3 separate regions of the Homo sapiens genome follow, and all the other regions are linked to region 1. Evidence: promoter capture Hi-C in 16 types of primary human blood cells and fetal thymus (Javierre and others, 2016). All regions are on one chromosome and are shown on one strand. The core of a region is centred on a gene start or on the middle of the fragment in contact, and the rest is flanking DNA. Distances in the headings are between cores, read along the strand shown.

Region 1 (2,700 bases), core at 61-2,560:
ATAATGCAAGTCACACTCAAGTGTTGACATCTTCATCTCCGGGCCGGCCCCTTATGAAGTGAGGGGGGTCTCCAGTAAAATCACTCAGGAAGCTCCTCGAGCCAAGTATTCCCAAATGCTACTTACTGGAGGTACAAAAAGGAGAATAACTTTTCTGAGGGCCATTTCACAATCTATACCAGAAGCCTTGTGGTATAGACCGTGGATTCTATCTTGTTTTAGAACGAATCTTGTGCGATTCTTTCTACAGAAATGATCACGCTCAAAAACCCAGATACAACGATGCTCAATGAATTACTTTTTGCAATAACTAAAAACTGAAAACCACTTGTACGCTCACCATCAGGGAGAAACTACATTTAGTAAATCACAGTCCAAAGCCATGCCAAGAGTCAGGGATGGATGAGGTAGTCAACCTGACACACAGGAATGTACAGTCGAGAGAGAGAGAGAGAGAGAGAGAGAGTCGAGAGAGAGAGAGAGAGAGTCGAGAGAGAGAGAGTCGAGAGAGAGAGAGAGAGAGAGAGAGAGAGAGAGAGAGAGAGAGTTTCAGCACTTTATGATGCAGGTTCTGCAAAAACAAGCCCCGCTCATGTTACAAGGAAAAACCATCTGGAAGAATATACACCCTCATGTTAACGCAGCTTGTCTCTGGGGAGCAGCGGCACGGCTGCTTTGCTTGCTTCCTTGCTTTCTGTTCCACGTTTTCGACAGTGAGAAGTATTATCTTTAGAGGTCGCGAACAGGCCGGAGGAGGGTGCGGCAGGTCGCGGGGCAGGGCCTCGCTAGGCAGGGACGCCCCCGCACCGCCCCGGGCTGGCCCCGCGCCCCGCGCCCCGCCGCACCTCCACCTTTGCCGGCGGTGAGCGGGAGCCGCGTCCCGCCCCGAGGTCTGGGATCACCGGCGGGCCGGCTGGAAGCGTCCGGAACTCACCCAGCGTCTCACCCGCGCGGGTCTCACCGACCGCGCAAACACCGCCCGCCGCCGCCGCCCAGAGATGGCCGCCGCCGGCGCAGCAGGGCCGAGAGCGTGGGGACGCCGGGGGGCTGAGTGCAGGGGTTTCCAGGGTGCGGAGCGGGCGGGCCCGAGGCGTCCGGGCGGGCGCAGGCGCGACACCGACCCCACCCGGTCTGCTGCCTCACCTGTGCTCTGTGGGCCGCGGGAGGCTCTGGGGTAGGTTTCACCAAACAACCGGTTGGTTCCGACTCGGCTGCGTAGGCCGCGTGGCCTTGCTCCCCTGGCCGAGAAACAGGCGCAGCCGGCGCGGAGGTTGAAAGCTCTGCAGGCGCGAGTACCAAACGCGCCGACTGTTTGTCGCGCCTCTCAGGTCCCCTGGGGCGACCAGCGCAGGAGGCCACCCCTCCCGCCGCCACGGACCCAACCCTGGTCCTCTGCCTTAGCCGAAGGCCGCACCCTCCGCGCATAGGCCTTCCTCAGCCCCAACCCAGGACATCACCATGTCCCGCAGTGCGTCCAGTCTTCCTGCCAGCAAGTGTGGGTAGGAGCCGGCCGCTGGCCCCGCTCTGGGCTAGACGGTGGGGACATACTGGCGGGCAAAAACAGCCCTGTGCCTGCTCTGCAGCTATGGGGAAGGAATATCTGTTCATGGCAGCAATAGCATTCGCTCCTTAAAACCTCTTTATGAGTCTCATTCCTTTTTTAAAGACCCAAACTACTTAAGGTGGGCATGAAGCCCCCATGTGTGATCTAGCCTCTGCCTGCTTGGCTTCATTTAGGTCCTTAAAGGATGCAGGTTTCTTCTCGCCCAGGGCCTCTGCAAATGCTCTTCTCTCTGCCTGGACACTCCTCACCTCTTCCCTATTGTGAGAGTTCTTCATATATCATTTCTTAGATTACACTATCCTGGCCCATAAGACTTGCAGCATTGCTGGGTGTGGTGGCTCATACCTGTAATCACGGCATTTTGGGAGGCAGAGTGGCGGATCTCTTGAGTCCAGGAGTTCAAGACCAGCCTGGGCAACATGGTAAAAAAAAAAAAAAAGAGAGAGAGAGAATGAGAAAGAAGAAAAGAAAATAATTAGCGGCTCAGGCCTGTAATCCTAGCTACTTGGGACGCTGAGGTGGGAGAATTGCTTGGGCCCTGAAGGGAGGTAGAGGCTGCAGAGAGCTGTGATTGCACCACTACACTCCAGCCTGGGCAACAGAGCGAGACCCTGTTTCATTAAAAAAAACACACACAAAAAGAAACAGCCGGGCTCAGTGGCTCACGCCTGTAATCCCAGCACTTTGGGATGCTGAGGCAGGCATGGCAAAACCCCGTCACTACTGAAAATATAAAACTTAGAGGGGCGTGGTGGTGCATGCCTGTAGTCCCAACTACTTGGGAGGCTGAGGCAGGAGAATCGCTTCAACCTGGGAGGTGGAGGTTGGAGTGAGCTGAGATTGAGCCACTGCACTCCAGCCTGGGCGAAGAGCAAGACTCTGTCTCAAAAAAAAAAAAAAAAAAAAACAGCCGGGCACAGTGGCTTACACCTGTAATCCCAGCACTCTGGGAGGCCAGGTGCGGATTGCCTGAGGTCAGAAGTTTGAGACCAGCCTGGCCAACGTGGTGAAACCCTAGCTCTACTAAAAATACAAAAATTAGCCGGGCGTGGTGGCATGCGTCTGTAATCCCAGCTACTCAGGAGGCTGAGGCAGGAGAATCACTTGACCTTGGGAGGTGGCAGTTGCAGCGAACT
Region 2 (2,700 bases), core at 78-2,577, 2.3 Mb before region 1:
TTTTTCTTACCCAAAAACTGACCCTGTACCTTTTAGCAGTCACTTCCATTTCCCTCTTTTATCTCCTGGCTAATCTACTTTCTAACTCTTTGGTTTTGCCTATTCTGGACATTTCATACAAATGAATCATACAATATGAGGCATTTTTGTATCCAATTTCTTTCACTAAACATAGTGTTTTTGAGGTTCATTCATGTTGCAGTGTTTTTCAGTACTTCACTCCCTTTTATGACTGATAACATTCCATTTTATGTATATATCAATTTTGTTTATCCATTCTCAATTGATGGCTCTTTGGATTGTTTCTGCTTGTTTGTTATCCGTTTATATGAATAATGCTGCTATGAACATTCTTGTACAAGCTTTATTATGGGCATATGTTTTCAATTCTCTTGGGCATATACCTAGGAGTGGAACTGCTGGGTTACATAACCCTATGTTTAACCTTCTGGGGTGCTGCCAATCTTTTCCAAAGTGGCTGCACCATTTTAGGTGTATTTCATTTAAGACAATAGCTGTAGCTCATGTTTTTGATATAGTGAATGCCATAGTAATTACACTTAATGAAGTTTCTGAAACTGGTAAGGAGGGAGCCAGAGTTCTTATGTGCAATAAGAGTTATTTCTATGTGTAATGACAGTTCCTAATGTGATGGGTTCTTTTTGAACCTCATTCAGAAGCCACCGTGGAAGTCGACTCTGCCCTCTGCACATTCTGGCTGGTATCCCTGGGGACCGCCCCCTCGGGTGTGGTTGCCTTAGTCGTCATCCTTGCTGGGATTCCAGGGTTGAGTTGCTGAGGTGCAAGCGTGATCTGCCCACTCTTTTATAACCTTCCCCCTCATTCGTGTTTCTTCGAATGCTTCTTCAAGTGGTTCCATCAAGATCAGTACAAACGTGAGGTTTCTGGAGCCCGTGGCCCTTGCACAAACATGCTTCCAGAAGAAAGTCGTTAGGGCAGGGTGGGTGGGACTAAGACCACGCTTTGGTATTAGATGCATCTTCACCTCCTCCCACCACCTATTCCTGCTGAGGGGCCTTCTGGGAGTTGTAGTTTCTTATTGAATAAAGAGAAAGGGATCTTCACCATCAGTGTGTTCTCAACCCAATGCCAGCCTCAAAACAAACAAGCAAACTCATTATGAAGTAAAGGGGACTAGATTTCCGGGTTAGTACTGGTCTCAACTTTTAATTGCTAATAAGCCGAAGAAAAGTTGTTAATACCTATGGTGGAGTAGAGCTTAGATGGACCACTGATGTCATCCTCCCCAACCCCTACACCTTGGCCTCTATTGGTCTTGTGGGTTCAGAAAATTCCTGTGGCTTTTCGGAAAAGCCAAAAAGTGTGCTTGACATTTTTTCTTCCCTGCAGTACCTGGCACAATGTTAGCACTGGGTCAGCATCCAGGGTCAAAAAAAAATTCCTTATTTTTTAAAATTTTTATTGATTTTATTTCTATTATTTATCCTTATTTATTTTATTTCTATGTCTTCTTCACTATTTTAGTGGGAGATTGGAAGAGATTTGTTCATATTCTCTTAGCCATATGCTATCTTAATTTTTTTCTTCATTTTACTTTTAGTAAAAACTAGTAAATTCAGAGAGTACAAAGGTGCATGAGATAGAAATTAAAATCCTCCCATCAACCTCTCTTCCTAAATCCCACTCCTCAGGGGAATCCCAACAGTTGGGTAAATGTTTTTCTGGGTACTCTCCGTGCCAAGCTGGTGATTATCTCAAAGTGCTTCAGATTTATACAACACTTAGAGGCATTGTTGCAAGCCCTTTGCCAGTATTTAATCTTCTCTACAACCTAATGAGGTGCCATTTTACAGATGAGGAAACTGAGAGGTCAGGGAATTTGTTAAGGTGACTTAGCTAGAATGTCACTGAGCTGGGATGGAAACATGGGCAGTTTGGCTCCAAAGTCTACACTCTTGCCTTCTATTCTACACCATTTCAATAGTTTTCTTTGTTGATTGAAAATGTAAGCTGTAGTTCCTGCAATCACCGCCACCACCCCCAACAACGAGAAACTGGTGCCCAAGAAGACAAAATGTTCACTTATATCTGAGCTCCAGATGAAAAGTCATGAGGGCAATTGTTCCCTAATGCGGACTTAATCTCCTTTTGGAGCTGCCACTCCTATCAGCCACTCTGTGTATTCAAAAATTTTTCTTTTTCTTTTTTTTTTTCCAACAAGAATGAGGTTGAATCAATAATGTTTAATGGTTCTTAGATACAATGGTGGCAAGCATACAGAAGTAGTACTGGGGCTAGATAAGAAGCTTTACTTGTAAAAAGGGATTTTCCCCATAGTGAATCAACATTTTCCTTGTATTTCTCAGGACAGTGTCCCAGGAGCCATGAACAAACAAACAAACAAACATGATTTTTCTTATATTTCAGGAGAAGGGTATTAGAAGACAGGGAAGGCCTTGCAAAGAAATATGTAGATTTCATTGAGAAGAGGGTGTAACACACTTTTTTTATTTTGCATGGACATGCCTAGTTCTTCAACACTGTGGTAATAGAGTAGTACCCTGCTTCCCATTTAGGAACCGATCTAGGGGCCTCATCAAGAGCCACTGCTTTGAAACTCAGCTTCCATGTTGGCATTTAGATCTTGCTTTTAACATTAACTCCTTGTTTTTATTGAAAAAATAATAAAAACAAACAACCAATCCAAAAATGGGCAAA
Region 3 (2,700 bases), core at 145-2,644, 2.3 Mb before region 1:
CTCCCAAAGTGCTGGGATTATGGGCGTGAGCCACCACTTATGGCATTTTAATTCAAAACTGTTATCAATTTTATTCTACCTATTCATGTACTTATGTAAACAAGTTTGAAAAAAGAAAAGGCTGATGAAACCTTTTAGTAACAAAGGTAAATACACAGAATGAGTTTATTTGCTATTACAAAATAAACACTACTGAACTAAGTTCAAACACTGAGCTGATAAGGCAGACACGAAGGCATTCCATTATTTACAAGTATAAACATACGAAACCTAATTTTAATAGTTTTGAAATTTCAAATCCAATTGCAACATAATGAAGTATGGCAAACTGTAAAAACAAATCTTTTCCAAACCATCAGGAAATGTTAAACAAATACTGAACAGCATTAGAACTCTGCTGTCTCAGTTGTACTTAGGTTACATAAAAATCACAGATTATCATTAATTGGATGTACTTACTTGGAACATTAAAAATATACACGAAAGGAGTTAGCATTAAACATTATCACATTTCAAAAGTAAATGAATAATCCAAAATAAAATACTTATAATAGCTTTAGAAAAAACTCCACTGGATAAATGTAGAAATATTCTAAATACACATGATTTGGAAGTAAAATTACACTTTATCTTATCTGTCTAACTGTTCTTCTCCATTAGGGATTATCATTCCTTATGAGTACAATTCAGAGTAACTTCTGTAAATAGGTTTATAAAAAATCATTTTCAATGTGGCAGAATATAAGTAAACAAACATCTGGAACTCACTAACGCAAACAAACTAAAAAACACTCCTGAATACTATGCTCTCACTTTAGGCAATGAAGAGGTCCGGGAGACACTACTCGGTTGACACTGGCTCCAGCCATGGTGTTCAGCTGAACTTCAGAAATATAAAGCGTCACAGAAGATGACTGCAGTCGTGTTTTTACAACTTCCAGTGGACATGTCAGAATAGCTCCCACTGTACCACCACATCTAAAAAAAAAAAAAAAAAAGAACACAGCTTATCTACTTAATTCATAAGTTAGTATATATGCCCAGAGCTGTAATCCACATGGGTACCTGGAGCTTTGCCAACATACTAAAATTTATAATTTTTAATGTTAGATGACTAAACTGATTTTTAAGAGATTCCATTATTTGATTTCATACAAACTTCTTCAGTAACTAAAATGAACACAGCTTAGTAACTATCTGGCAAGAATAACTGCTAAACACTTCAACTGATAGGTGCTGTTACTAAAATTGTACTGGTAAGTCACATAATGGCTTTAAATACTGTCCTAAGGTTTGATTTAGTACTCATGTATATATATAACTTGTGGCTCTGTTAAAATCTAGGCCATTCTTTGAAGTATATCCTATCTTTCAAACTCCTGTCCTTTCAAACTGAAGAAATGGTCTTCTGAACAATAAGGAAGAACTCACTGATAGTTAACCATACATAGTTCTCTTATTTTAAATCCCCAAATATTCAGAAGTATTTCACCTACAAAAAAATACAGCATTTGAGGGCTGGGCGCATGGCTCACACATGTAATCCCAGAGCTTTGGGAGGAGACAAGAGGATGGTTTGAGGCCAGTTTGACATCAGCCTGGGCAACATAGCCAGACACCACTTTACAAAAAATTTGTTTAAAAAATTAGCCAGGTGTGGTGGGGCATGCATGTAGTCCTGGCTACTCGGGAGGCTGAGGTGGGAAAACTGTGTGAGCATAGGAGTTCAGGGCTACAGTGAATATGATCAGGCCACTGCACTCTAGCCTGGGCAACAGAGTGAGACCCTGTCTCAAAAAAGAAAAAAAATTGGCATTTGAGTCTCACAATTAATACCTGTCAGGCCTACACGTGGAAAACTGTACAATGTAGGTAGGCTTGTTAGAAGAATCCAACTTAAATAAAAGGACTGATCACCAGAACAATAATAACAAAAGCTCTTAATGACATTGAACTGTTTAAAAGGTATGTAAGATATAGGCTGAGTAATTATTATTTTCTTATTTTAAAATACAAGAGTAGAAAATAATTTCCTCTTAAAACATTAATAACTACCAAGTGAAGCCTTTAGAACTGCTTTCTAACCAAAAGGGAAAATCACTCAGAAAAGCTCTTAGTGCGGTGAAAGAGAAAAGCTAGTTGAGTCAGGTTAACGTGGACCTTCAAAATGGGCATTAAAAGAAGAAAAAGAAAAGCAACCCATGCAATAATACACTAAACAATTCTACCTCCACAATAAAAAAAACACACACACATATATATAAAGGAAAGCAGGCATGGCAATGTTAATATCACTCCGAATAGAATGTAAAAGAAATTTTAAAAGATAAAAATATGTCATATTGGTGTATTAGTATATGCCACAAAGAAAATAAGATAAAACCAAACTGTATGCAACTAGAGTGAAAAACTTATGCAACAAAACTATTAAAAAATAAAGAACATTATATGTAAAATAAAAAACATGCCCCTTACCTCACAGTACATTTTAAAATTAACTCGAAATGGATCACAGACCTAAGTTTAAAATGATGAAACTATAAAACATCTAGGAAAAAAACATCTGGAAAAAAATCTTTTAACTTTGCGTTAGGCACAGACTTCTTATATGGACATCAAAAGAAGCACAAATCATTAAAGAAAAAAACTGAAAAACTGGACCTTATCAAAACTAAAAACTTCTACTCTGAAAGAAACTGC

What was found. The method cuts DNA at HindIII sites, captures the fragments that hold promoters and counts their contacts. A CHiCAGO score of 5 or more calls a contact.
Region 2: a contact is called between a fragment that was not itself captured here and the fragment with the promoter of FAIM in region 1, in 2 of 17 cell types (total CD4 T cells and naive CD8 T cells). The highest score is 6.2, in total CD4 T cells.
Region 3: a contact is called between a fragment that was not itself captured here and the fragment with the promoter of FAIM in region 1, in 1 of 17 cell types (total B cells). The highest score is 5.4, in total B cells.

What each region holds. Positions count from the first base shown.
Region 1 is chr3:138,607,381-138,610,080 of GRCh38, reverse strand. It overlaps FAIM (Fas apoptotic inhibitory molecule), which reads right to left and starts at 1,310. Exons shown (of 6, transcript NM_001033031.2): 1 at 1,144-1,310. RefSeq lists an enhancer at 573-662 and a silencer at 763-1,222. The HindIII fragment of the contact is 4,797 bases long and covers 1-2,700 here.
Region 2 is chr3:140,929,423-140,932,122 of GRCh38, reverse strand. No RefSeq gene overlaps it. Among named protein-coding and RNA genes, the nearest start is that of SLC25A36, 11 kb to the left of the region's middle. The HindIII fragment of the contact is 1,926 bases long and covers 365-2,290 here.
Region 3 is chr3:140,954,805-140,957,504 of GRCh38, reverse strand. SLC25A36 (solute carrier family 25 member 36) reads right to left here. Exons shown (of 7, transcript NM_001104647.3): 2 at 814-978. Among named protein-coding and RNA genes, the nearest start is that of SLC25A36, 14 kb to the right of the region's middle. The HindIII fragment of the contact is 5,297 bases long and covers 1-2,700 here.